Regions from separate parts of the Homo sapiens genome. Here all the other regions are linked to region 6. Evidence: promoter capture Hi-C in 16 types of primary human blood cells and fetal thymus (Javierre and others, 2016). All regions are on one chromosome and are shown on one strand. Each heading gives the region's core, a stretch centred on a gene start or on the middle of the fragment in contact. The rest is flanking DNA. Distances are from core to core; before and after follow the strand shown.

The links. Contacts are between HindIII fragments. The CHiCAGO score rates a contact against its expected background, and 5 or more counts as called.
Region 1: a contact is called between a fragment that was not itself captured here and the fragment with the promoter of TP53AIP1 in region 6, in 5 of 17 cell types (naive CD8 T cells, activated CD4 T cells, naive CD4 T cells and 2 more). The highest score is 12.5, in naive CD8 T cells.
Region 2: a fragment that was not itself captured here is called in contact with the fragment with the promoter of TP53AIP1 in region 6 in 3 of 17 cell types (naive B cells, total B cells and M2 macrophages); the score reaches 5.9 in naive B cells.
Region 3: a fragment that was not itself captured here is called in contact with the fragment with the promoter of TP53AIP1 in region 6 in 8 of 17 cell types (total CD4 T cells, activated CD4 T cells, total CD8 T cells and 5 more); the score reaches 8.2 in total CD4 T cells.
Region 4: a fragment that was not itself captured here is called in contact with the fragment with the promoter of TP53AIP1 in region 6 in 6 of 17 cell types (naive B cells, total B cells, total CD4 T cells and 3 more); the score reaches 12.8 in naive B cells.
Region 5: a contact is called between a fragment that was not itself captured here and the fragment with the promoter of TP53AIP1 in region 6, in 5 of 17 cell types (activated CD4 T cells, naive B cells, non-activated CD4 T cells and 2 more). The highest score is 7.2, in activated CD4 T cells.
Region 7: a fragment that was not itself captured here is called in contact with the fragment with the promoter of TP53AIP1 in region 6 in 5 of 17 cell types (total B cells, naive B cells, non-activated CD4 T cells and 2 more); the score reaches 13.5 in total B cells.

Annotation. Positions count from the first base shown.
Region 1 is chr11:127,998,847-128,003,025 of GRCh38, forward strand. No RefSeq gene overlaps it. Among named protein-coding and RNA genes, the nearest start is that of LINC02725, 95 kb to the right of the region's middle. The HindIII fragment of the contact is 5,201 bases long and covers 1-4,179 here.
Region 2 is chr11:128,033,896-128,037,858 of GRCh38, forward strand. No RefSeq gene overlaps it. Among named protein-coding and RNA genes, the nearest start is that of LINC02725, 60 kb to the right of the region's middle. The HindIII fragment of the contact is 6,153 bases long and covers 1-3,963 here.
Region 3 is chr11:128,017,416-128,021,481 of GRCh38, forward strand. No RefSeq gene overlaps it. Among named protein-coding and RNA genes, the nearest start is that of LINC02725, 76 kb to the right of the region's middle. RefSeq lists a silencer at 2,585-2,783. The HindIII fragment of the contact is 792 bases long and covers 1,524-2,315 here.
Region 4 is chr11:128,135,250-128,139,066 of GRCh38, forward strand. The region is part of intron 2 of LINC02725 (long intergenic non-protein coding RNA 2725); the gene reads left to right. Among named protein-coding and RNA genes, the nearest start is that of LINC02725, 41 kb to the left of the region's middle. The HindIII fragment of the contact is 4,086 bases long and covers 1-3,815 here.
Region 5 is chr11:128,100,811-128,104,749 of GRCh38, forward strand. LINC02725 (long intergenic non-protein coding RNA 2725) reads left to right here. Exons shown (of 6, transcript NR_183639.1): 2 at 432-574. Among named protein-coding and RNA genes, the nearest start is that of LINC02725, 7.0 kb to the left of the region's middle. The HindIII fragment of the contact is 683 bases long and covers 1,520-2,202 here.
Region 6 is chr11:128,940,815-128,944,805 of GRCh38, forward strand. TP53AIP1 (tumor protein p53 regulated apoptosis inducing protein 1) reads right to left here and starts at 2,057. Exons shown (of 4, transcript NM_022112.3): 1 at 1,980-2,057. RefSeq lists an enhancer at 1-400. The HindIII fragment of the contact is 8,104 bases long and covers 1-3,991 here.
Region 7 is chr11:128,153,091-128,157,078 of GRCh38, forward strand. The region is part of intron 2 of LINC02725 (long intergenic non-protein coding RNA 2725); the gene reads left to right. Among named protein-coding and RNA genes, the nearest start is that of LINC02098, 54 kb to the right of the region's middle. The HindIII fragment of the contact is 5,358 bases long and covers 1-3,988 here.

The sequences.
Region 1 (4,179 bases), core at 1,049-3,548, 940 kb before region 6:
TGTTCAATACAAATATGCAAGTATAGCACTATTATAATTGTTAACCTGTACTCCTGTGGGCACAGGTTAACGATTTTTCAACTAGAGTACAGTCTTACGTACGATCTCTGTTGTCTTTCGTCGTACAAATACCATTTATTTATTTATTTACTGTTTTTTTAATTTTTTTTTGAGAGGGAGTCTCGCTCTGTCGCCCAGGCTGGAGTGCAGTGGCGCGATCTCGGCTCACTGCAAGCTCCGCCTCCCGGGTTCACGCCATTCTCCTGCCTCAGCCTCCCAAGTAGCTGGGACTGCAGGCGCCCGCCACCTCGCCTGGCTAATTTTTTGTATTTTTAGTAGAGACGCGATTTGACTGTGTTAGCCAGGATGGTCTCTATCTCCTGACCTCGTGATCTGCCCGCCTCGGCCTCCCAAAGTGCTGGGATTACAGGCGTGAGCCACCGCGCTCCGCAATACCATTTATTTTTAGTCACATAAGTCAGTATTTTTAACCCTCATCTCCTTCAATGAGTTGTTCTGTATATTTGTAATACAATTAGATTGTTTTGTCAAATTCGGCATTCTATCCTGAGACCTCCGACCTTTTAAATCAAGTTTTTAAAATGTGCATACACTGAGTGAGCCCTGTGCTGCAAAGTTCTATGATGCTGACAAATGCATAGTGTCACATAGCCACCATTCCAATAACTACAGAATAGTTTCACCTCCCTAAAAATAATTCCCGATGCTTCATCTATTCAACTGTGCATCTCCACTCTCCTGGTACCCATATTTTTCTTTATTTACTTATGTATTTATTTTAATGTTTCTTTAGTTTTGCCTTTTCCAAAATGTCATAGAATTAGAGTTTTACAGTAGGTAGCTTTTTCAGACTGGCTTCTTTCACTTATAAATATCCATTTAAGATTCATGCATTTGTTTTCATGGCCTGTTAGCTCATCTCTTTTTACCCTAAATAATAATATCCCATTGTGTAGACGTACCACGGTTTGTTTATTCATTCACCTATTGAAAAATAACTTGGTTGCCCTGTTTTCTTGTAGATTGTGAATAACGCTGCCATAAACAGTCTCATGCAGGTTTTTGTGTACACATAAGTTTTCAAATCAGTTGTGTAAATTTCTAGGCGTGTGATTGTTGGAGATTGTGGCAAGACTACGTTTACTTTTGAAATAAACTGCCATACCAGATTCTAAAGTTGTACCATTTGCATTCCCACCATTAATAAATGAGAGTTCCTGTTTCTCTATATTCTTGCCAGTAATTGGTATTATCAGGCTTTTTGCCCTGAATTTTAGCCATTTTAATAACATATGCTGGCATCTCATTGTTTTAATTTGCAATTCCCTAATGGCAAATAATGTTGTGCTTCTTTTTATATGCATATTTGTCACCTGTATATTTTCTTTCGGAAGTGCTAGTGAGACCTTTCTGGAATTTTTAATTGGTTTACTTTTTATTGAGTTTTAAAGAGAGTTATTAGTATATTTTGAATACAAGTCTTTTATCAAATATGTGTTTGGTTAATATTGTCCTCCAGTCTATGGTTTTCTTTTCATTTTTTTAGTAGCATCTTTTCTCCAGTAGAAGTTTTTAATTTTGATAAAAGCCAACTATCAATTTTATTCTTCCATGGATTACGGTCTTGGTGTTATATCTAAAAACTCATTGCCAAAACTAAGGTCACTTAAATTTTCTTCTGTTTATTTTTTTTTTCTAGAAGTTTTATAATTTTTATTTCACCTTTAGGTCTGAGATTTATTTTGAGTTCATTTTTTAACAAAAGGGGTAAAGTCTGTGCCTAGGTCAATTTTTTTTTTAACATGTGAATGCCTAATTGTCCCAGAACAGTTTGATGAAAGACTATCCTCTCTGCATTGAATTGCCCTTGTGCCTTTCTTGAAGATCAGTTGACTGTATTTATGTGAGTCTTTTTATGGGCTTTCTATTCTGTCCCATTAATCTACATGTCGTTGTTTCTCTAGTAAATACCACGCTGTCTTGATTAGTGTAGCTTTATAGTAAGTCTTGTAAATGGTTTATGTGAATCCTTCAACTTTGTTCTTCTTTAGTACCACGTTGGCTATTCTTGATCTCGTGACTTTGTACATAAATTTTATACTGAATCTATTGATATCCACAAATAGGCTGCTGGAATTTTGACTGGGATTTTGTTAAATATTAAGATAAAGTTGGAAAATATTGACATCTTTACACTGAGTCTTCCAATTCATGCGTATAAGCTGTCTCTCCATTTATTTAGAACTTCATTGATTGTTTCATGAGAGTTTTGTAATTTTCTATATATAAACCCTATAAATATATTGTTAGATTTATACGTAAGTGTTTTATGATTTTGGTTTTATTATAAATGGTACTTTAAAAAAATCAAATTCCAACTGTTAATTGCAGGTATATAGGAAATCAATTGACTTTTGTACATTAACCTTGCATTCTGCAACCTTACTATGCATATTTGTTAGATCCAGGAGTGTGACTACTTTGGTATTTTCTTCATAGGCAACCATATAAAATGTGAATAAGGATAATTTTGGTTCTTTCTTCCTAATTGGTAGATCTTTATTTTCATTTTCTTTTTTTGGTTTTATTGTATTAACTAGGAGTTTTAGTATGATAATGAATGTAGGTGGAGAGGTGTACATCCTTGCTTTGATCCTTGTCTTAGGGGAAAAGTGTTCATTTGATATGATGTTATCATTTTTCTTCTTTAGCTAGTTGATGTGTGGCTTACATTTATTCTTTTTCAAATGCTGAACCAGTCTTGTACACTTTGAATGAATTCCATTTGTTATGGCCTATATATAATTCTTTTTATACATTGTTGGATCTAATTTGCTAATATTTTGTTGAGAATTTTTGCATCTATATTAACTGACATTGGCATGTGGTTTTCTTTTCTGATAATGTCTTCATTCATTTTCATATTAGGGTAATACTGACCTCATATAATAAGTTAGGAAGTATTTTCTCTGCCTCTAACATGGCAGAGATTGTTGAGAATTGATATCATTTTTTGGTTAAACATTGTCAGAATTACCAGAGCTTTAGTTTTAGAATAATTTTGTTTTTTTCTATGTCAGAGAGTTATTAGTAATTGACTCAATATTTCTAGTGGCTATGGACCCATTTACATTACCTGTTTCTTCTTGTGTGAGTTTTGATACATTGAGTCATTCAAGAAATTGGTCCATTTAATCTAAATCATTAAATTTGTGTGCATAAAGTTGTTTCTAAAATTTCATTATTACCCTTGTAATACTTGCAGGATTAGTAGTGATGTCCCATCTTTCATTTCAGGTAGAGGTTGATCAATGTTATTGATATTTTGAAAGAATCAGCTTTGGGATTCATTGATTTTCTATATTGATTTCCTGTTTTCAATTTCATTATTTTTACTCTAGTTGTTATTATACCTATTCTTTATCTTGCTAAGGATTGAATTGCTCCTTCTCTAGTTTCATACTATTTGGATTTCTTCTAGTATGCATTTAAGACTATATATTTTCCTCTAAAAGCTGTTTTTTCTGCATTCCACAGATTTTGGTATGTTGCATTTTCATTTAGTACAAAATATCTTTAAATTGTTCTTGAGACTTCTTTGACCCATGCATAATTTTAAAGTATTTTTGTTAAATTTCCAAATATTTGTAGATTTCCCAGCTATCTTGCAGCTAACAATTTTTAGTTTAATTACATCGTGGTCTAAGAGCATATTTCCTATGATTTCTGTTTTTTAATATGTCACATCATATTTTATGATTTAGCCCAGAGTACGGTCTATCTAGATTAATGTTCTATGTGTACTTGAGAAGGTGTGGTTCCTATTATTTATGGAGATTTCTATAAATGTCAATTAGACCAAGTTGATTGATAGTGCTATTTAGGCCAACCATATTCTTACTGGTTTTCTGCTTGCTTATCTATCAGTTAATGGAATAAGAAATGTTGAAGTCTTCAACTATATAGTGGATTTGTCTATTTCTCCTGTCAATTCTATTTGTTTTTTTGTGGGATTTTTTTTTTGCTTCAAATATTTTAATGCTCTGTTTTTAAATACAAACATCGTAAAACTTTTAAGTTCATCTTCTTGGATAATTGACCCTTTATAAGTATAAAATGCCTCTCATTCTTGATAGTTTTTCTAGTTATGAAGTTGGC
Region 2 (3,963 bases), core at 1,403-3,902, 910 kb before region 6:
TTTGCATTAAACATTTGAGAGCAAATTATATACATCCTGAATCTTTACTTTTAAATACTTATGCGTGCATTTCCTATGAATAGTAATATTCATTTAGCAGTAACAGTATATTTATCAACATTGGTAAATTTAACATTGATGCAGTAACTTTAGTCTGCCATCCACATTCCAAGTCTGACACGTGGCTCACTGATGTCCTGAATAACCCTTTTTCTTTTCTAGAAGAGAATCTGGGCTAGGCTCAGTTATTTATTTGCTATTTATATCCTTTTATCCTTATTTTTTCTAGAACACCTCTACATCGTTCTTTGTTTTTTAATGCCATTGAATAACAACTTGAATAATACTTTTTAAAAGGATTTGAATAATACTGCTCACCTTGTTTAAAAAAGTATAATGTTCCCCATTTTGAGTTTATCTGACACTTTCTTGTAAACATGTTCAGATTGTGCATTTTCACCCCACATACCTCATAGACGATATTGAGTACTTTTCAAAGTACCTGGAGACATATTAGATCAACTGTCCCTCACTGATGATATTAATTTTGATCACCTGCCTGAGGTGCTTGATTTCACCACTGTGGAATCACTGCTTTTTTCCCCTCTTGCAACAATAAGCAATCTGTAAGGAGATATTTAAAATCACGAGGATGTCTTGCTCTTCTTTAAAACATCCCCCAAATCTAGCACCCATTGTCTGTTCATTTCTGACCCAGTCTTTATCATAAAGTTTGCACATAATGGTTTTCTGTCCTCAGCTTTCCCTCCATATTTACTAGGCAGCACCCAGCATTCTACTGCAATCAAGAGTCCTCCTGCTACCCTTTATTTATCTATTTATTAGCTGTATGGACTTAGACATTCCTAGGTTTTCAAAGGTTTATCGTTAACTACTGAATTTAATAATTATGATGCTCAAAATGTCTCAGATTTGGCCAATGGGATTCCTTCTGGGCTGGCTCTTGTGTCTCTGCGACATGCCCCCATTATGTTTTTAAGCACTTCCTTAACTTCCGGCACAACACGATATTCCTGGCACATCTTGTTCCTACTTTCTCTGCCATCACCCCGAGGATTCTTGTTTCCTTTTCATACAGAGACAGATTTGAACACTAAGCACCCTCATTGCTCCTAGGCTGTCTCTCCTTCTCGGCCCTCTCAATGGACAGTGTTGGGAATAATTGCATATGCACCTGCACATGCAGGGACAGTGCTACAGAAGTGTCTACACACATACACGCCATGTGCATTCCTACACACACACTTCTGTATGCACACGGGAGCAGGCACACATACATACACAGGGTTTAGACAGCATGGTTGACCACTTGTGATGGTGAATATTGAATGTCAACTTGATTGGATTGAAGGGTGCAAAGTACTGTTTCTAGGTGTGTCTGTGAGGGTGCTGCCACAGGAGATGAGCATTTGAGTCAGTGCACTGGGAGAGGCAGACCCACTGTCAATCTTGGTGGGCACCATCTAATCAGCTGCCAGCACAGCTAGTATAAAGCAGGCAGAAGAATGTGAAAAAATTAGACTGGCTTAGCCTCCCAGCCTACATCTTTCTCCCGTGCTGGATGCTTCCTGCCCTCAAACATCGAACTCCAAGTTCAGCTTTGAGACTCTGACTGGTGTCCTTGCTCCACAGCTTGCAGACAGCCTACTGTGGGACCTCACCTTGTGATCGTGTGAGTTAATACTCCTTAATGAACTCCCCTTTATGTATACATCTATCCTGTAAATTCTGTCCCTCTAGAGAACCCTGACTAATATACCACTCATACCTCTAATTTCCATTCATCTCTATATGATCTTTTTCTTCTCCTTGGGATAGAAGTGCACTACACTTTAATTTAAACCTTAAAACAAAGATTGCCCCCCCACCCGCCTGCCACCACCACACAATAAAACCAGAGGATGTGTGGCCGATTTGGCAACAAATAATAGATTTACGGTAGCAGAAACATAAAGTCACAGAGCAGGTTAAAACTGGAGAAAAGCAAATAAAAACAGCATTATAAATATCTTTCCAATGACTTATGCACTCATTTCAAAAAACATTTTTTCGGAATCAACTGTGTCAAGCACTATTTTAGGTATTGAGATATATCGGTGAACAGTTTAAAAGTCTGTCACTTTAAGGAACAGATATTCAAGAGATGTGAGACACACAGCATAACATTAGTACAAAAGATATAATAGGTGCTCATTTTGAAAATGCTACATGAAAGATCAAAGCAAAAAAAGGGGCATAGAGGTACCTCAATGGGCGTATTTCCTTATATAGAGGGTTTGGGGTGCAGACCTTTGTGATAAACTGATATGTGACCGGAGACCTAGAGGATGTGAAAGAGCAGCCGTGAAGATCTCTGCCTGAGGCTTCCAGGCAAAGGGTGGGTCAAGTGCGTCCTAGAAGGCTGTGATGGGGGACAGTGAGGGGCTGCTGTGGCTGGAGCCCAGTGACTGGGCAGTGTTAGGAGGAGTTGCAGGAGGCAGTGCAGGGTCGGATCCTACAGTGCTTTTCACACCTGTAAGAATTTGGCATCAGTGCAAGATGGGAAGCCACGGGAAGATTTTGAGCAGAGACATGCCATTGTCTGACCTGAGTTTCACCATAGTCACTCCAGCCATTCTGCAGAGGATACACTCACATGGACAAAGGGAAACAGGTCAGTCCAAACAGGGGGCAAGTAGTAGAAACCAGAGATGAACTTGAGACTCTCGCAGTCATTCAGAGATGACGTGGTCTGTACTGAGGTTATGGCAAATGTGTGCACTGTCTGTGTAGAGACAGATGTCCAGTCAGCAAGCATTATTGCATGTCACTATGTGCCAGGGAATGTGATGACTTCTGGGGAATACAAAGATGAGTGAGACACAATCACAGCCCTCACAGAGCTCACAGTCTTTGGAGAATGTGGTGGGCAAGGCAGACATGCAGGAGTAGGATGAGAGTGTAACCTGATAGGCCCTGAGGCAAGTCAGGAGCAGGCTGAGCCACAGGCTCACGTGTCCAGTGCTCCATATCCGTGGATCCCTGGACTCAGAGACAGCTTCAGACAGGACATGATTTCTCTTGAAATAGAAAGGAATCAGGAGCAAAGAAAGAGATTCTGGGGCTCTTGAGTGATAGAGAGAACATCCTTGGCTCTTGAATTTCCAGTTCCAGTCACAGCCCTCATTATGGCTTGCTGAGTCTGTCATTCCCTTGGGTGCCCATGGAATTGTCTGCCATGGTTTTACAACAAGCTCCCCTTACCTCATCTGCCTTGAGAAAGTTTCTGTACCTTGTAGCCAATGACTCTGGTCTGTGACATAGAGAAGATACGAATGCAGAATCAACAGCCTGATGCTGGCCAGGGCATATGCAGGGTTAGCATGGGGTGAAGGCAGGGCTGGTGTCCAGATTTCTGGCCCAGGTGTGACAGCAACATCATTTGTCAGAAGAAATAGGAAGAAGCTACCGAGTGTGTTCTCAGGTGTAATAAGTTTGAGAAGCCTCCAGGGTGCAGATGGCACACCTCGAGCTAAGGGGCCCTGGGTGTGGGAATGAGTTCTGGAAGGCTCCAGTAAGCATTGCCAGTGAAGCTGGGGGACCTGCAGGTAGAGGAAAAGTCAAGCGTGGAACTCCAAAGAATGTCTCGGTTGCACGCAAAAGAAGAGAAGTCAGGAACAAAGAACAGCCAGGAATGAACTAAGACAAACGAGAGAAGGAATCCAATAGACACCATGAGAGGAAAGCATTTCCAGGAGGAAAAAAATTCCAATTCCCCTTCCTTCTTTCCTTCCTTCCTTCCTTCCTTCCTTCCTTCCTTCCTTCCTTCCTTCCTTCCTTCCTTCCTTCCTTCTTTTCTTCCTTCCTTCCTTCCTTCTTTTCTTCCTTTTTGGGACGGAGTCTCGCTCTGTCGCCCATGCTGGGGTACGGTGGCACAATCTCGGCTCACTGCAGCCTCCATCT
Region 3 (4,066 bases), core at 670-3,169, 920 kb before region 6:
TCATCAGTGTTGTATCAAAATTACCATGGACAGCTTTTAAGTCTTCCGAGTGCATACATCTAATAGGCAATTAGTTGGTAAAGCCTAGAACTTGGAGGAGAAGTCAAAGCTGGAGATATAAATTTGTGAGTTATCAGTATGTAGGTGTAAGGGAAGTTGTAGGCATAAAGGTGAATGTGCTATGAAATTCAACACTGAGTAACTCCAAAAATATTAAACAATGCAATTTCATGATAAAGAGCTAAGACTCTGAAGCCAGATTGCCTTTGTCTGAATTCCAGTTCCTTCATTATAGTAGCTGTGCGGCCTCAAGCAATTAACTTAACCTCTTAGTACTGCCATTCCCTCATCAGTAAAAATGGAGCTAATAACATATACCCCAGGGCTTTGGGAGTATTAAATGAACAAACACATTAAAAGCTCTAAGAAGAGTGTCTGGCACATAATACTTAGCAAATATAAGTTGTTTCTTTGGCTGCTTCTTGTTAATTATTATTTTCATCATCATTATCAATATTAGACATTAGAAGGTGATTATGCAAAGTAGACAGAAAAGGAATATCCAAAGAGGGAATCAGGAGAGCATGATGTCTTACAGGCCAAAGAGGAATGAGCTCAGAAAGAGGCTATGACCAACCATGCTGAATTCTAATGAGAGGTCAGGTAAGATGAAAACTGCAAAATGCCTATTGTATTTATGGACATGCAGGTTATTATTAGCCTTAGAAACTTTTTTGAGAGTTTCAAGCATAAACATGGTTAACATTAGATGGAAATGATCAAATTGAGAAACAAGCCAAAGAGAGAAGATGAAGAAGGAATGATGTCTTCTAAGAGAACAGCAATGACTGGGCTCCAAAGCTCAGGTCATGTCAATGGTCTTAGGTGGAAGGTGTTACAGCTCCTGATAGCAGGCGGGAAAGAGAAGAGGAAGGTCACAGACAATGGTTTTATCATCGGGGGCTGAGGGAGATCCCATTGCTGTCTTTTATTTTCTTTTAAAAAAAATGTGAGACTCCATCTTAAAGAAAGAGAATTACTTATGAGAGCATAGGATGTATAGAAAGAGAAGGAGATAGGGAGTGAGTGGCCAGGGGATTTAAAAATTTGGAGAAAGTTTGCAGCATCCTGCAGTGGGTAGAAAGGTGAGCTAACTTGATAAAATGTTGGATGATCTTTGGCAGTCCTGAGGGACTATTTGAGGTTGGTGACAATAAATTGAAATTAGAACCAACGTGTTTTATTTTGTACCTTTTTTCATCCCATCTTTTTCATGGTACAATTATAAAGATAATTATTTGGATTCACCAGGGTTGATGCTTGAACAAGTGGGGATAATATTTAAGAGAAGGAAAAGGGATTGTTGGTACTACTGGATTGATGGGTGATGGAGGGAACTGTTAAAGGAAATGAGTAAGAGCAAGGAGAGGAGCTCTGATGAGTCCCCAGCGATGACATCATGGGGCCGAACAGAGAGCTGAAAGGGGAGAGACCACAGTGGAAGAGCGGGATGCTCAGGTTTAAGCTTTTGGAGAGAGGACCACCATGCTCAGGCTCTTTCTCCAACAGATTTCATCTTCTTACCTCTCAAGGTTCCTGCTCCATCGTTCCCACCGACACTGCGGATATCCCTATATCAATGACCAAACCAAACAAAATGCCTTTGTAACCACTGAGCTCAACCAGACATATTACTGATCACCTTTTTTCTTACTGTCAAACCACTACATAAATGAATCACACACTCTGCTCCCACTTTTCTTTCCTTTCTTCACTTCAGAAATCTTATTTCTGCCTCCAACCTCATAGAAATACCATGTTCTATCTTTAGTGTTACTAATGATCTCTTTTCTACAAAATCCAATGGTATTTTTCTATTCATCATTCTTCCCTAAAGAAAAGTAAGGACTTTGAGAATCAAAGAAGTAGAGAGGGAATTTCAGGTAGAAATATAACTTTAGCATAAAGAAATGTAAGCAGAGGTATGAAAGGAACCTTCAAGGGGCCATGCAGAGCCTGTGGACAGTAACGGATGAACGTCAGAGATAGCAGGAGATGCAACTGGAAAATTGTAAAATAGGCCATTGGAAAATAGAACAGGGATGAGCTAAGTTGACTTACATACTAGGTCCCCTTGTTTAAACTTAGTCCTATTAGGCAGTGAGGAATATTCAGAACTTTTTTTAGTAGGGAAATTACATGAAAACAGTGTTGTTTTAGGAAGATTAATCTGGCCAAATTCAGAACGAATTAGATATGGCTAAAAGCTATGCATCTAGTTCAGATAATTAATTCCATCCAACAAGCGTTTATGAAGCTTTTCTATGGATATGTGCCGTCCATTGTCCTATAACATTGTCCTAGGGAGAAGCAAAGTGCTGACTCCAGAGATAATACAAAGTAAATATGATATGTACATATTCCTTAGGACATCAGAATTCTAACATTGGGAGCAACGCAAAAGAACTTTGGGTAAATACCTCTACTATAAGGCATTATAAGAGATGTTTCGCCGGCTGGACGCGGTGGCTCACACCTGTAATGCCAGCACTTTGGGAGGCCGAGACGGACAGATCACGAGGTCAGGAGATCCAGACCATCCTAGCTAAAACGGTGAAACCCCGTCTCTACTAAAAATACAAAAAAAATTAGCCAGGCGTGGTGGCGGGCGCCTGTAGTCCCAGCTTCTGGGGAGGCTGAGGCAGGAGAATGGCATGAACCTGGGAGGCAGAGCTTGCAGTGAGCCAAGTTCACACCACTGCACTCCAGCCTGGGCGACAGAGCGAGACTCTGCCACACACACACCCACACACACACACAAAAGCGGAGTGTTTCAAAACAGAAATATTCACTAAATGTTATGTAAGCTTCAAGGAGTAATCAATTAATATCAACTGAAGTGGAAGATTAACAGAAGGTCTCTCCTAGGTGACATGAGTGGAGCCTTGAAGGAGAATAGAGTATCAGCTGGTGGAACTTACTGCAATTGCACAATGTTGAGTCCTTTGCCACTATTACTCTACAGGCCAGCTTTATAACTCCCAGGCCCAAAGGCTGACATAGGCTTGGAGTTTCAGGTCAATTGTGTGGAGAGCTTGGATACGAACCATGCTCCATCCTGTAAATGTTCTAACTTGGGGGAAATCGGCAATAGACTGCTGGAACAACCTGATTCCGGCAGTAATGAAATATTGTTGGCTATTGATCTACCAGAAGACTGCATTGATTATCTGCCCTGTTGGTGACTAGGAAGCAGTGAAAAGAGACAAGAGGAGAGAACAGCGGCCATGCAGAGAGCAGGTGGTGCATGGTCCAGGCCTCCAGTCTGTTTCAAGAGATCCTGATGCTACTTTCTATGAGTACAGTGTTTGGGGGTGACAGGTTAGCACTTCACTGAAAGAGACATTGAGGGCTGCTGCAAGAACAGAGAAATGGTCAGCTGATCACTGACTTGCTCTCTATTCTTGGGCAGATCATCTTTCCCTGACACATTGTTCCTACCTGTAAATTGAAGATAATAATCCATGGCCCTTTGTTATCACAGTAAGTGGAAAATGAGATCCTGTAGGTGAAGGACGTTGAAGTCACAAAGAGAAAGGAGCTCTTCTATGAAACTTCCAGAGGGTAGTGGCAGCATCAACTGACATTTATGGGCGCTAACTCTGCACAGGGCACCATTGCTTATCCTGTACACTGCATTAACTAAAACTAAAAATTGTCCCTGTCTAGGGAAAGTTTGCCCTTCAAAAATCTTAGCTGCAGAGGTTACATAAATACATTCATAGAAGAAAAAACATAAGGAGGAGGGGAAAGATTTTTTTTAAAGCCCATATCTCTATGTTTAACTGACATGAGATTTTTATTTATTTTTACTACTTAAATTTTTTGAGCCTACACCGCAGGAATAAGCAGAGTCTATTAAAGAGTCTGATGCTGCAAATGATCTTACAGAAGATCACTAGAATTTATGATCAGCTCTGCCCTTGCAACCTGCCTTCCCTGCAGCAGCAGGCGAGGAAGGCAGAGAGGCTGAGAGGTCATTGGCTGACATCAGCAGGTACAAAGT
Region 4 (3,817 bases), core at 523-3,022, 810 kb before region 6:
TCATATTCTTGAAAAAACTTTTTTCTCAAGGACGTATCTTTGTGGTGTGTGAGTATGTACTTGCGTGTCTGTGCATCTAGCTATAAAAAAGTGTGTGTGTTTTATGTTGAGAGTGTGTGGATGGGAGTGGTTTCTTGCATTCACATTTCAGTTTTATATGTTACCTCAATTTGACAACTGAAAAGAACCAGTGAGGTTAAGCATCACAGGGAGAAGAAATCCATGGTTGAGAAATAGGTTGATTTTGTCACATACTGTTGGCTCAAGGTTGTGAAAATTAAGTGTAGGAATGTTGCTTTCTTTTTCCTTCTGGCAAATGAAAAGGCCAAAGCTCAGAATTGTTGGAAATGACAGTCCAATTAATCAGGCTCCATGCTTCAAACTAGGTGCTGAGCCTGTCCATGGTTGTGAAATTTTTAAATGACCCCTTTGTCCTCGGTGGTGCCAAAGTGAAATTCCTTTGGGATCACTTGCTTCTTGGCACCTGGTATCTGACCAACAAGAATGCGAGACAAAAGGTTCTTTCAAAAAAAAGAGACCAAGCTGTGCTTTTGTTTCCTCTGAAAGAAAAAGGTAATTTTACAGAAATACAGCAGGATTATCCAACTACACTATATGCCTCTGGCAGGTATCGCTCTATAAACAACTGAATCCAGTTAGACCTACAAATGTTGACTCCATTTTTTAGAATGCCAACAGAAAAGAAGGATTGTAATATTCTTAGACTTTTAGAATGGAGAGTCGAGATCAAATCTTCTTTTCTTCTACTCCCTGAATTTCTTTTGTCATATGGGGAACAATTTTTTTATTAAATGGAGAACAAAGAGATAAAATTAAATGTCTAAGATAGCACAGGAAGATACAGTTAGAATGAAAACCATGATCTCCTAATTCCCAAGCAAAGTCTTTGCACCCTAATGGACCCCCAACAGTAGAGACCTGTGAACTCTCTTCTTCCAATGCTGGAGAAACAACATTGAAATCAACCTAGAGATATAGCCTGCTTTACAAAGTTAATTTAGGATTTCCAAATACTTCATCTCAATTGCTCCTGACTACATAACTATGAAATAAATTGGACAAGTATCATAGGCATTTTATGCACAAGCAAACAGACTCAGAAATGTTAAGGAACTTGGCCTAAAGTCTCAGGAAGCTGAGTATCCTCTCCAGGTCTCCTAACTCCAAATCGATTTTGTACTAAGATGGGATGGAATTATTTCAAAAGAAACATGACAGAAGAACAGAGATTTTTTTTGTTTGTTTGTTTCTTTCTTTCTTTTTGAGACGGTGTCTCGCTCTGTCACCCAGGCTGGAGTGCAGTGGCGCGATCTCGGCTCACTGCAAGCTCTGCCTCCCGGGTTCACGCTATTCTCCTGCCTCAGCCTCCCGAGTAGCTAGGACTACAGGGGCCCGCCACCACGCCCGGCTAATATTTGTATTTTTAGTAGAGACGGGGTTTCACCGTGTTAGCCAGGATGGTCTCAATCTCCTGACCTCGTGATCTGCCCACCTTGGCCTCCTAAAGTCCTGGGATTACAGGCGTGAACCACCGCACCCGGCCAAGAACAGAGTTGTTAAATAGCTTACCTGAAGTTATACAGCCATCTCAGATTAAATAACTTTTCCCTGGAACATGAGTGATTGATAATGGAGGCCTTTTATTGCCTTTTAAAGAAAATGTCAGCATTGATGGTTGGTAATTTACCAAAGAGGGTAAAATGTGCCTAGCCTGCCACTAACTCGCTCAGTGAATGCTTTTTTGTCACTTATTGTATGCTTGAGAATTTTGCTGGACACTTTATGTACACTTAAAATTTACCTCCTTTGAACTCTATGAGTTAAGTAGGACTAATCCAATTTTTCAGAGGAGGAATTGAGGCTTTGAGAGAACAACAAAGTTTCCAAGTCATATTGCTGAAGAACCAAGGTATGCATCAAGGTAGAGCATGATGAAAGTTATTTGAGGCCTTGTAACTATTTATGGCTTTTTATGACTTGACGCAGGTCCTAGCCTCCATGCTAAGGAAAAGACAATCAATGGATTGGAATTTAAAACCCAAGTCTAACCTATTTTAATGTCTATACCCTTTCCTCTACTGGCCAATTTCTTTGCCATAAAGAGTACTATTGATCTAAAGTTTCTCTTCTGAATAGGAATAACAGGACCATTTCCAGCCCTTTGAAGATCTCTACAGACAATACATTTTCATAAAATAATAGTTATTTTCCTATTGAATCACATTGCCTTATTACTTCTACAATTTTGACTTCATTCATTTAACCTCTCTATAGACTGCACAATTTGCCTTCCCCACACGAATATTATTGTGCTATTCTAATACCTGTGGAAGTTAAAACGACACAGTCATCTATTGAATAGGGAGTTGGATCATTACAGCCCAGTTTAGAAAGTAATTTTCCCAAGACACGCTTTATTTAAAGTCAGGGAAGAAGCCTCCATTATAAATGCTTTCCACTGTAAAGGGTAATGAGTTGCCCGGAAGCTCTGATTAGCTGATTTCCCCTGTGTACTCCCTGCAATGGGCAAATCAGTGCTGACTCAGTCACTGCCTACTTGGCCTCAGTTATATGGCTCTATTTGACTTGTTCTTGGTTCACCACCTTCTTTCCCTAACTCTCTCCAGGGCAGTAGTCGCTCAACTGATTTTCTCACCCCAACAATTATCTTGATAAGTTGAGGCCTGACAGAGAGCCCAGGAAGTGCCCTGTTCCATGCCCAACAAGGACATCTTGGTGGCTCTGCGACAGCTATGTCTTGTGAATTGCATTTGTAGGATGTCGGAAATCTCTGCTATGTCTCTAGAAACATAAGCAAATAATCATTCCAAATAGACATAGGGCTAAATTTACTGAAGTGTATGCTTGGAAATACTAGCTCTTTCTGTGGTCACCTTTTGTGGTCATTATTTGACAAACAGTCCTCAGCAGGTACACAGAAAGCACTCTACTTCCTATCGCAGAGATTAGCACTGAATATTAACATAAATGATGGGAGAAATTCTATAGTAAAGAAATTCATGGCCGGGCGTGGTGGCTCACGCCTGTAATCCCAGCACTTTGGGAGGCCGAGGTGGGTGGATCACAAGGTCAGGAGATTGAGACCATCCTGGCTAACACAGTGAAACCCCGTCTCTACTAAAAATACAAAATAGCCGGGCGTGGTGGTGGATGCCTGTAGTCCCAGCTACTTGGGAGGCTGAGGCAGGAGAATGGCTTGAACCCCGGAGGCGGAGCTTGCAGTGAGCCGAGATCGCGCCACTGCACTCCAGTCTGGGCGACAGAGCGAGACTCCGTCTCAAAAAAAAAAAAAAAAAAATTCATCTGGTTTTATTCAACGCAGTCATTACTAAAGTTACTTGACCATGGAACTGGGATTTTCAGTGAACACTAATAAACACCTTCTAGCACTACTTGTTCATGGAATGTACTTTCCGAAATTCTAGATGAGGGAAATTTTTGTTTTACCTAAGAGCTCTTTCTGTTCCCAAATTGTAAGAATGTTAATTAAACTGAAAGTGGTTCATTTAATGAAAGTGGAGCTAAAATAATTAGGGTCTCAACTTAAAATTTTTTCAATTTCCATGCCTTCAGTAAAGAGAGCTCTCAAAATTGGCTACAGCCCCTTTGGGTAAGTTTTGGGAAAACTGCTACCCTCTAAATTGGAGAGGCAAGTGAATATGGATAATCACAGCTTACCAGAGCAGCAGCCCAGAAGTCTACCTCTGAATCCAGTATCATGGTGGGAGAACTTAAATGCTAATTAGTAAATTTTTGGAGGCTCAGAGTAGATAAG
Region 5 (3,939 bases), core at 611-3,110, 840 kb before region 6:
AAATTAATAATTATATGAATGTATACAGTTTTCTAAAGGAGTAATTTAACGTTTTAAAAATGTGTACTTTGATCAAGGCTTTAATGTAAATGTATGACAGAACTGGAAGTAAAAATGACTTAACTACTGACTTATCCCTGCCTTTTTTAAGAATTATGTTACTTATTCTTGGGGAGCATATGTATAAGTATTCATGTTTTATTCAACAAAACATTATTAAGTGTCTTACGTGACAGGAACATGATAATGTATGGGGATAATAGTGGACAATATGCCCTATCTTCCAATTTTTCCTTATTTCCTAATCATTATTTGGTTTTCAGAAATGTATTTTAGTTGTTGGATCTGTGCTATAGGGCAAAAAGAAAAAAAGTAAAATAGATTTTGTTTTCAAATTTTTTGCAGGAAATAATTTTCAAAATTTTTTGTAGGTTTTGCAGAGTGCCTCCAGAAATAAAAGTGTTACAAAAGAATCACTTCAGAAAACCTACACTTAGAGAGTCCATTTGAAAATTGCCCTATTTGAAATGAAGTGGAGATCAGTAATAACAAGGACTTCCCCATATAACCCAAGGTAAAACTAAATGCAATGCCATTTCCAGCAACACATTATGAGAACGGGATGTCTTTGGCTTTTAGCTTCTTCTCCTGTTACCTCCTTTCCTAATTCTTAATATTTAAGCCAGAGCCAACTCTGCAAAGTTTAGCAGAGCAATCAAAATTATGAATTTTAATAGAATGTAATTTGAAAGATTTTTGCCTTGTGAAATAGGTATTATTTGCTTACCAGCACTATCTGTAGCATCTAAAGTTCTAGAGTTTTCTTGAAGATACTTATAATTTTTCCTATCACAGTCCCATTACAAGGGTAATATAGTTTAGTTTATGCTGGTTTTACTTTTTTAAAAATCAGTGGGCCAAGTGTTTGATTTAGTAACTTGGAAAAAGGTTCATATTTTTTGAGTCTCCTGGAAGCTCAAAGCATATTTTTCAGGGTACAATTTAACCTCTGAGCTATTTGGTTTAAACCATTTATTTATCTGTGGTTAGGATTAGAGTTTGACTTATAGTAGCTTCAGGAAACATGTTCTGGACCTTTACTCTTGACCAATTTACCTTCAAATCCAAACCTGAGGATGACTGATTAGAATAGTCTGTCAACTTTTCAAAGCAACAGTGCTTCATTCTTTTTCAAGAAGTAAGGTAAGGGAGAAAGATATTTCACTGCACATCAAAATAAATAAAAATATAAATCTTTCATTGGGTTGAAAAATATTTGTCCTGGGGAGAGTTTAGACCCAGCTCATCTCACTCCATTGTGCTATTCAAAAATAACAGTCAGAGGTTAATATCGTGGCCAATTTCTATCTGAATAGCACTAAGGTGAAGGAAACTGTTCTCCCCAGAGCAAGAGGGCTTTGGGACTCACATCTTAAAGATTTAAATGACCACTTTAGAGTTATCAGGAGTCCTGTGAGAAGAAATCATTTTAATTCTGCATGTTGCATAATGCTCTTGAAGCTTATATTCTAAAGAAGATGACAGTCCATTAAAAATAGTTTGACTATATATAATTTCAGATGGTGATAGAGATGAATTACAGTACGAAGCAAGGTAATACAGAAAATCATAGCATGAGGAACTAGAGTTAAATAAGTTGGAAGAAAGAATCTGGAGAGAATTCTGAAGGATGAGAATCTAGTCACCGGGCAATTTGGGTTGAGTATACCAGGCAAGGAACAGCAAGTGTAAAGGCTGTGGAATGGGAATAGGTTTGGGACACGCAAGAAGAAGCAAGCAAGCGAATACAGCTAGAACATAATAAACAGAGAGAGTGATTGGACGTATAGGTGAGGGGCAGGTCACATAGTATCTTCTAGGCCCTCAGTCAGGAGTTTGTATTTAAGATACAAAGAAAAGTCATTGGAGAATGTTATGCAGGAAACTTGATATCATATTTATTTATAAAGGATAATTATGTCTGCTGTGTGAAAAAGGGTCTGTGGGAAGTCAAAAGCAGTGTCAGGTAGACCAGATAGGACTGAGTGAGATAGGTGTAGCCTGGTCAGAGACCAGGTGAGAGGCTGCAGCAGGCTGGGCTAGAGATACAGCTGTGCAGGTGCAGAGAAGGTCCTGGATTCAGAATACATTTTGAAGACAGAACTGACAGAACTTGCTGAAGGATTAGATTTAGAGAATGAAAGCTTTTGGCCTGAATCATTGGGTGAATGATGATAATACTTATTCATTTAGAAACAATAGAGAAAGAAGCAAGTTTAGAAAGAAAAAAATAAAAGTTTTGTAAGTTTTGTTTTTGTTACATGAGTTTAATGTACTTGACAGCCAAGTAAAACTGTCAAGTAGGCAAGTAAATTTTCAAGTTTGAATTTATAAGAGTTTAGGGATAAAGCTATATTTCTGGGAGACATCACCACATAGATAATTAATATTTAAAATAAGGTTGCTGGGTGAAAGCAAAAATGTAGCTAAAGAACAGCAGGGTAAGGACTGATCTCAGGGGATGCCAGCATTTAGAAGTCAGAGAGAGAAGGGGATTCAGCAAAGAAGAACTGGAAGAAATAAGCAACCAGGTAAGAGAAAAAACCGGGGAGTGGGTTGTTCTAAAGTCAAATGAAGAAAGTGCTTGGAGGATGGGGTAGTCTCATGTCAAATGCTGTATGAAAATTGAGTAAGATGAAGAGAGAATGGTTGACTGGATTTAGTGAGATGAATGTCTTTCGTGACTTTGACAAAAATGGTTTCAATGCAGTGGTTGGAAAAAATCTTGATTCAGATGGGTTGGAAGGGAAAGCATTTCAAGGTGATGACAATGACTATGGACAAATCATTTGAAGTTTGTTTGGTGTGAAGTGGGAAGAGAAATGAGGTGGAAGTGAGAGGTTGTGAAGCTGTACAGGGATTAAGAGGGGATCTTTTTGTGTTTAAGATGGAAACTATTACCCTGTGTGCTGGTGGAATTATCCAAGGGAACGGAAAAAGTATACTTTTAACTTGGGATGAAATTTTTTCGGGAGGAAAGAGTGGATGGTATCTTGTGCATAAGTGGAGAGAGTGACAGAGAGAAGGGACCAAGTCCTGAAGCACGGCTAAAAAAAAAAAAAAAAAAAGCTGTTAGAGACCACTCCATATGCAAAGAAAACACTCCATAAGAGGGGCACTTTGTCAAAATCCCAGCCGTAGGCTTTGATCCTTGAAGTAAACAGCAAAGATAGAAACTAGAGCAAAATGGGAATAGAGAGGACAGTCTTCATGTGTGTGAGGGATAGGCAAATTGTACTTAGTGAATGTAGCGACTCCCTATTTCTAACGATAGATCATTTCTAGATTCACTGGTGAGGTCAAGCTCCCTTTGAAGCAGACTTAACACAACTGAGCTTTCCCACTGCAGTACTTTGGCGCAAGCTGACAGAGGCAGTACCAACAGAATTGATTATCAATACATAGTGTTTGTATTTACACTAATGAATAATTAGCTTGTATTGATTGGTTTGTTGATGGGTATAAGAAAGATTGTGAATATCATCCTCTTAATAATCTGATGGGTTAAAGTCAGGCATTGCTGCCAGCATCTGAAAGCAGGAGGAACCAACCTCAAAGTATAAAAGTTAACGAGGATAAACCCACAGGGGATCAGAAACCTCACAGATCATCCTAAGGAGTATCATCACAATGAGAACAGCTAAGAACTGCTAGCTATGTAACATAGTTTTACAAAATAAACGCAGCTGTTACATATTTTTAAACTGTAACATTTTATTTACTGTTTTTCACTTCTAAAACTGAGAATTATTAGGTAGTACAGAAATGTCACTAAAACATTTACACACTGTTCTACCAACTATTATAAGTGAATAGCCTTATAACTCAACAAAGATAAAAATAATGCAACTAAAATAACTCCATTCTCCTGCCCTTTAA
Region 6 (3,991 bases), core at 807-3,306:
GAGCACTGGCCCAGTCTCGAGGGGCGTTCATGTCAGGGAGGTGCCCCCGCTAGTGTCAGCTTCAGCGCCGCCAGCATCAGGAAGTTCATCTCGACAAGCCCGGGCAAGAGAGGAGGCGGTGAGATCACCTCCTACCCATCCAGAGATCCCCCGACTTTGGAGTAGTCTGAAGGACTTGAGACTCCTGAAGTGAGAGGGGACAGAGCTAGGAGAAGGGAGGGCAGCCAGAAGGGCAGGGGTGCAGGGGGCGGGATGAGGAGAGCCAGGCTGGCATTAGCAAGAGCTTCTTCATGTCCTTTTGGCCCAAGGGGGCCGTGTTCTCTGAGGAAATGGGACTTGCTCCAGGGAAGAGGAAGAGCTCAGCATCCACTTTCCCTCTGCCGAACAGCTCCTGGGGAAAGCCCACCACTGTCTTCTTGCCCCGCTCTGTGCCCTCACACAAGCGATTCTCTCCACCTGCGACGTGTTTCCTCTCCCTCCCCTGGCCAGTGTCCATGGGTTCTCTGAGACGGAACAGGAAGTATTTTAAGGAAGACCTCCCTAACCTCCTCCCAGCTGGGTGGATCCCTCCCTCTGGGCCCCCACACATCTCAGTTTCAAAAGACCATTCACATTGTAGTCTAAATTAGTGGATCCCTGGTGTGTGATGTGTGCAGTTATAATGGGTTGCCTCAGCCCCCAACGCACCTTTCATTGCCTTCTTCTGTGATAATGCCCCTGGGCCCTGTACCCATTTCTCCCTTGCCAGCTGGCATGATGTTTAGCCCTGTGCAGAGGCAGGGGCCTCTCCCCGGTTCCGACATTTCTTTCTCTGCTTGCCCCGGCTGCTGGGGGGACATGAGGGACACTTGGCCCTGTTCTCTCTTCAGCAATAATTAGTCCCAGCCCAGGTTCCTGGCCTGCTGCTCCCTGAGGAGGGTTTGCCAGTGCCAGCCCGTGCTTCCTTGTACCAGGACTTGGTCTGCTGGGACCCAGTGGAAAGCCCACGGCTGCCGCCCCCACCCACCTTCCCCTGCTTGCCAGCCACAGTCACCAGCTGTAGACTTGTGTGGCTGTGCTGCGGAAGCAGATCTGGGTGGAGGAGGGCCCCACGCACAGACGTGAATATGAAGGGACCCTCTAGAGGTTGTGGCAAACACAGGTGCCCCGCCCCATGCCCTGTCTGCAGTCACAGCCCTTCCTACATGGAGGGTGCTATCATCAATCTTCTGGGGGGCTGTGGACACTCTGCATCCCCATACCTGTGGCAGTCCTGGCACACGGTAAGCTCTCAGTAAGTGTGGTGAGTCACTGCTGAAGGAACTAACAAATAAACCTCCCACCACCAACCACAGGTAGCTGGGGCAGAACTAGGGAACTGCTGAAAGGAGGCTGGTGAACCCTGCCATGACATGCCCGCTGTGCCCAGGACCCAGGCTCCCACAGCTCGCGTCCTTCCTCTATCCCAGATCCATTCAAAGTGAAGTGGCCTCCATACAGGCTTCCCTAGGGGCCCTGCTCAGTGTCCATGAGGCCACCATGCCGCCGTTCACCAGGGGACGTGAGAAAGGGGCTGGCCTGTGGACCAGGACTGACCCAGGTCTGAGCCCCAGCTCAGCGGTCGGCTAGCTGTGCGAGCTTGCGCAGTAGCTCCCCAAGTGTGGCTCAGGACGCACAGCATCGGCGTCAGCATCGCCCAGGAACCTGTTAGAGATACACATTTTTGGCCCCAACCTGCATCGACCAAGTCAGAAATTCTGCAGTGTGTGTTTTCGTAAGTCCTCCAGGTGACTCTGATGTACTCTCAGGGTTCAGAACCATTGAGAGAGAGCAGTTTAGCTGACCTCCTCCAGGCCTCACCTGCGCATGGTCACGACTGTACTTTCCGCACACAGTCGCCGAGATGCGTGTGAAACCCCAAGCACAAAGCAGAGTGAATCGCAGTGGCCAGAGCATACCTGAAGCACCAGCGCTGGTCCCCTCCCTCCCCCTCTCCTCACCTGCCTCCTAGGAGTCGGAGGGTCCGTGGAAATGGTCTCCTCCTGCACATCTGTGCTGCTGTGACTGGGTGCAGGTCTGAGCAGAGGCTTTCGGAGTGAGCTGAGCAGGCGAGCCCGAGCACGGCCTCTCAGGGAGCGAGCCCATAGGCTGGGGAGCCGTCCCTGGAGATGCCCCTGGGCTCCTTGCGGGGCATGGCTGAGTTCCTGCCTGTCCTTGGCAGGCCCGCAGTGGTGGGGTGGCTCAGGCAGTTACCCTTTTCACAACCAGTGCTGCTGGGGGTGAAGGCAACGGGTGGGTGAGCACGGACAGTGTGAGCCACGTGGCCGGGAGCTGGGCCAGCTCGCTGTATGTGCACATCGTTTCCATGTGTGCAGCAGAAATTGGCGTCTCTGCACAAAGCTGATTTTAGTCTTTCTCACCTTTTCTTGCTCAGCTTAAAATAGGCCTCTCTTCAGGGACAAGGTGGCCTTATACCAAGCCAAAGTGCTGAGGGCGCAGGGAGACCCGCGAGACAGGGCCCCCTGAAGTCCTGGCGGTTTCTAGCCAGCCTCTTGAAATTGACTTGAAGGTGTTTACCTTGCAGATTATTTTTTCCAACTTCCCACACTCTGCTTCCCGCACTCTGTCCTTCCTCAAGGCTGGCACGCTCATCAGTTGACTTCATCTCTCCCTAATGGCAAGGCCTGACCCAGAAAGAAATGCAACTCAGATCCCGGCTCAAATGAGGCTGGGAAAGCTGATGCCTGTAAGACCGACAAAGACGGTGCAAGGTGAGGTGAACGCCGCTGTGTCTGGGTGCCGGGCTCCCTTGTCGAGTTGACCCTGAGTCTGCATCAGCTCAAACGCAGTTCCCGGTTCCCCACTGAGATTCCCACTCCCGCCTGGAGGGGAGACGTGCCTGCCTTTTGAATGAAGCGTTGCACACTAGACATAGTATCACAGGCAGAATTGTCATTTTTAGCCTTTTTACATGTTGCCAACTTTCAGACATACTATTCCGTTTTATCCCTCCAAATTCCTCAAAAGCTGCTTCTATTTTGGAGCTCTTTCTTGCCAGTGCTGGGTAATTTCTCCCTAGCCATGTTTTTATTGTAGAGAATGGAAACCTGATGTGATGAACACTCTGAGTAGAAATCCCTGGGGGCTCGCAGTTAACCGGATAAGACATCTCACCCTGAGAAACGGTCCCAATTTCCTTTTAAAAATTCATTGTCTCTCTGAGATACATACATATTTCCTTGTCTCATTCCAGAATCAAAAGTTCTAATGTTGCAAAGAATAATTTTTGTCCAAATATGTTTTCTTCCTGGTGTTCCAGAGAGTCTGGGATAGCAAGAGGTGTGGAGCTTTGGTCCTCGGGTGACTCTGATTCCATCGTTCCTCCAGCAACCAGGGAGCAATCACTGCTGGGCAGGGAACACCTGCTTCCTCCCTGGGCTTCCAGCCTTCCCCTAGCAATCTTTTTTTTTTTTTTTTTTTTGAGACAGAGTCTCACTCTGTCACCCCGGCTGGAGTGCAGTGGTGCCATCTCAGCACACCGCAACCTCCAGCACACTGCAACCTCCACCTCCTGGGTTCAAACAATTCTCCTGCCTCAGCCTCCGGAGTAGCTGGGATTATAGGCACCCACCACTACACCCAGCTAACTTTTGTATTTTTTAGTAGAGATGGGGTTTTACCATGTTGGCCAGGCTGGTCTCGAACTCCTGACCTCAAGTGATCTGCCCACCTCAGCATCCCAAAGAGCTGGGATTACAGGCATGAGCTACCGCACCTGGCCCCCAACACTCCTTTTTAAGACCCATTTGAAAATAATGACAAAAACCACAATTACTTTTGCACCAAGTTTAACCACAGTTTACCAGTGTGCGGTTACTGTGGCTTGAACATTGTTATCCATGCATGGTACTTCTCTTAAAATTTGCTCCCATGCAATCAGAACACTTCTATACAGCCTGTCTCCTTAGATAGACTTGACCATCCTTCTCTGCTCTTGCATCTACTGCTTGGG
Region 7 (3,988 bases), core at 110-2,609, 790 kb before region 6:
CATCTATAAAATGATCACTCTGGTCCATTTTCCATTTGGCAGAGCTCAAACAGGCTGGAAGCCGACTATGAGGATGAAGACAGCGCCTAAACTTTCTAACACTCTTTATGGGGCCTATTTCCTAGAGTTCATGCAACTCATCTTGAGTCACAATTTATATATGTTTAGGTGATCAAACTACCTTTTATTTATATTTCCAGTTTATGAAGCATGGTTGATATGGTATTTCACTAACCCTCACAAGAACCCTAAGGTAGGTAGGTAATAATGTCCCCATTTTACAATGAGGGCACCGAGGCTAGATATGGCCCACAAACCTTCTGTAAGCAAATAAATGCAAATGCAGGGTTAGTGCTGGAACTCACATCTTCTGACTCCTTCTGTGCAGCTGAACTGTGAACTCCAGCTTGTAAAATACAATTCCTTGCTCTGTAGCCAAAACAAAACTGCATTTGGAAATCAGAATCAGAAGGTTGGTGATAGGCCGTCAAGTGTTTCACAAGTGATTAAAGGAGAATCTGGGTTCCCCATCTCTTGGGGCCTCCTATTCCTCTCTCAGATCCCTCAACACTTAGTATAAATTATCTGGCATTAGGATAGAGATCTTTTTCATTAGTGTGTCTTTGAAAAACATTAATGTACAGGAAAGAAAAATTCCTCTTCATAGGGACAAACATAATCTTATCAGAAATGAGCAGGACAATAACAGGAAGGAGAGGATTCTGGAATGTCAAAGAGAGGAGGGGCAACAGGGAAAGAAGGCAGGCTGCAGGAAAGGCCCGGAGAGGCTTTCATCAGGGGCCGGCAGCCAGGATATTATTGTGAGCTGGAAACATGGGCAGAGCCAGGCAAGGAGGAGGGCATATTGCAAAATGGCTGCCTTGCTGCCCTTGTTGACGTGCGCCCAAAGACTGCACATGGACAAAGACATATTTATGCAAAGTCCATTTTCCTTCCAATGACTTCCAGGGGAAGCTCACAGCCGCTAAGGTGATGAAGCCTGAAGCTAGAGAGAAAGGACCTTCAAAGACGTTGAGTCCCTCTCCATGGGATGGGATTCCATCTCCCATCCTGGACTTGAGACCCTGACAGCAGCATCGATTCCTTCTGTCACTAATCCAGAGACAGCGCATCCCACCGCTGCCTAGACTGCCCGGAAACTCTATCCCCTCCCTCTTGCAGCCTTCACACACCCCCGGAAGGGTCCCAACCAGACTACACCTACACCTTCCCAGACCAGCACCAGCTGTTAACAAAGTGAAATGTCCCTTTTCTTTGACTGTTAGATTTCAAATGCTGCATGGTCCAAAACTGCTTTTTCATGTCTCACCTACACTCATCACACTGTTTCAGCCTATTTACTTTATTTTGTCCATAGGGTACATAGAAAGCAGCTGGCCATCTTCCTGGGCATAATAACACTTTAGACACTTGACAGAAACAATGGAGCCACAGAAAAGACCACCCAGACATAGATATCTGTCTCCGAGGAAAAGTTGGGGGCACAGCAAATATTCTCAGGACTTGGCAACATCCGCTTCTCTCATTATGCCCTATACAAAATTACAAAAATACTCAGTTCAGACATTTGATTTTGGTCTTGAATATTCTATTTAACACAGTGTACTTGTCTTTACATATAGACATGCACATCTGTTCCTAGAATTCTTGCAGAATAACTTGCTTTCCTTGCCACTTTACTTTGGCTTTAATTGTTGTCATGAATACAGCCTTCCGTACATCTTCCCATAATGTTCTTCTTAGTTTTTTAAACTCTTTAATCATTTTCTCCCCTTAGAATTTCTGAAGTTAAATGATAAAATGGATTGGGATGTCAGTCCAAAATCTCCAATGCTCCGAAAATCTCAGACACATGTTGCCTCGGAGATGGGTCTTTGGGGGCAATTAAAAGATAATGTCAATAGGGCTGGACAATGACAAGCTAATGGTCTCCTGCTGCCAAAGAAGGGGCCTTGGAGAAACTGAGATGTTATTTTCAAAGCCAGAGCCCATTATGCTGTCACAGCACCATCCTCCGATGACCTGGCTCCTATTATGCCCAGTGATTAGAACAATAAATAAAAGAGAGGCAGTAAGGAATAAGTGCAAATTTCTGCAGCTAACCAGCAAACCAATCGAGTTAAGAGTGAGGCTCCCCAGACACATTTAGCCATCAGCATGTATGTCTGAACCACTGGCTCCAGAAATGTTACCTTTTCATCTCCATGCATGGCATTTCTTGCAACTGACATTTTAGTTTTTTCTATTAACTCCTACAACTGGATTTTATTCTTGCCAGCCAACTCCTACCTAACCTTCAACACCCAACTCAGAATGCTTTTAGGAGTCTTCTCAAACCCTGTAGCCCACAGGTACCCTCCTCTAAATCCATGTATTTTCAACCTGTTGTGGTCTTTGTTGTCATCATTAACATCCTTTATAACCCCCTTTGCATAGTGGTCCCTTTCTTTACTACTGCTTAAGTTCTCAGGAACTGGTGTTGACCCAAATGGAGTGTAAATTACCAGTCAACAGAGATTATATCGCACACATATTTGTATACCCTTAAATCCCAATATATGCCCTCAACAAACACCTCTTAAGTGGTTGGACTTTTGTGAATGTTTCTGTTTAGATTAGTCATGGTTGAAAAGGTAGAGTATGTGTCAGGCCATGATGTTTATCTCCTCCAGCAGGTGAGTAGGAAGAAATTGATGTTGCCCAGAACGTAATCATCAGAATATAAACTGAGATGGAGTGAAATCACCCTTTATGGTCTGCTGGCTCACTTCTCCTTCTTGTTTGTTGCTTGTCATAGATCCTACCCCTTTCTGAAATGGCATGACTCTATAGGAGGTCCCAGGCCTGGTATCCTGGTTATTGGCTGACTGACCAATTGCTTTCTAACTTAGTTTCAGATTTGTTTTTCTGTGAATTCAAGAAAAAGGAGTGGTATTTGCTGGCAATTTTGCTGTGCAAGTACCTTGCATTTTAACCTTCTGGGACCGTTGTCCCTTTATTTTTATATTGACTTTGTTTAGTTGGTTAATTAATTTGTGAGTTAATAGCTTTGTCAGAGTACAAAAAGATAAGCATATATGGAAAGCTGAGATGCAGTTTGTTAGTGTATGTTCATTTTAATCTCTAAACTTTAAACCAATTCTGTTTTTCTTCTAACATTTCAAATTACTTTAAAAGTGTTAAATTATTTATCGTCAAGGAAGACGCCATCACAAGAACAGTGTTTTCTCCTCCGTCAGTGGATTAGGAATCAGAAGATCTGAGATGTATTTCTCTTTTACCACTGACTTATTCTATTGCGTATTTTTGGAATGTATTTGCTCATTTCTTACTTTACAAATTCTAGAGGGAACACACAATCTATTCCATGTGCTCTCTTTTGAGCACTAGATAAGGAAAGGTTTTTTTTTTTTTTTGGCAGATGATTGATTAGTTTACAAGTATCCTTCTTCAACAGTAGATATACCATGGCAGGGAAGTAGAACCACTGTCCAAGGTTACCTAGAAGCCAGTGACCAAACTAGACTTCGGGCTTTCATCTTGTGAGTCACAGTGTTACAATCACTAATCCCCATTATCAATGAGGCATGAAGTTGTGTATGTAGAACACTGTAACAGTCACCAGGGCAGCACACTCAGTTCAACATTACTTACCTTGGGTTCTATGCCAACGTCCTCAAGCATTTTAAGAAAATGGCTTAGAGCTTAAGTCGTACAATGTAAAAAGCTGATAAAAGATTGTCCCTATGTCAGTTTCAACTTTGCCCTCAAATGCCAACAGCAAGGACACCTTCATGAGCAACTGGCCCTAGGACTTAGAGAGGCTACTAAGTGGCTGTAGGAACCATGACACTCTGACATTCCTGGCCCAAGTAGAAATATGAAAACCTAAGCATGGTGGGTTGAAACTTCATGAATGTCTCTCGACCCTGAAATGGGTTGCAGGTGTTTGTCTCAAAGACGAGAA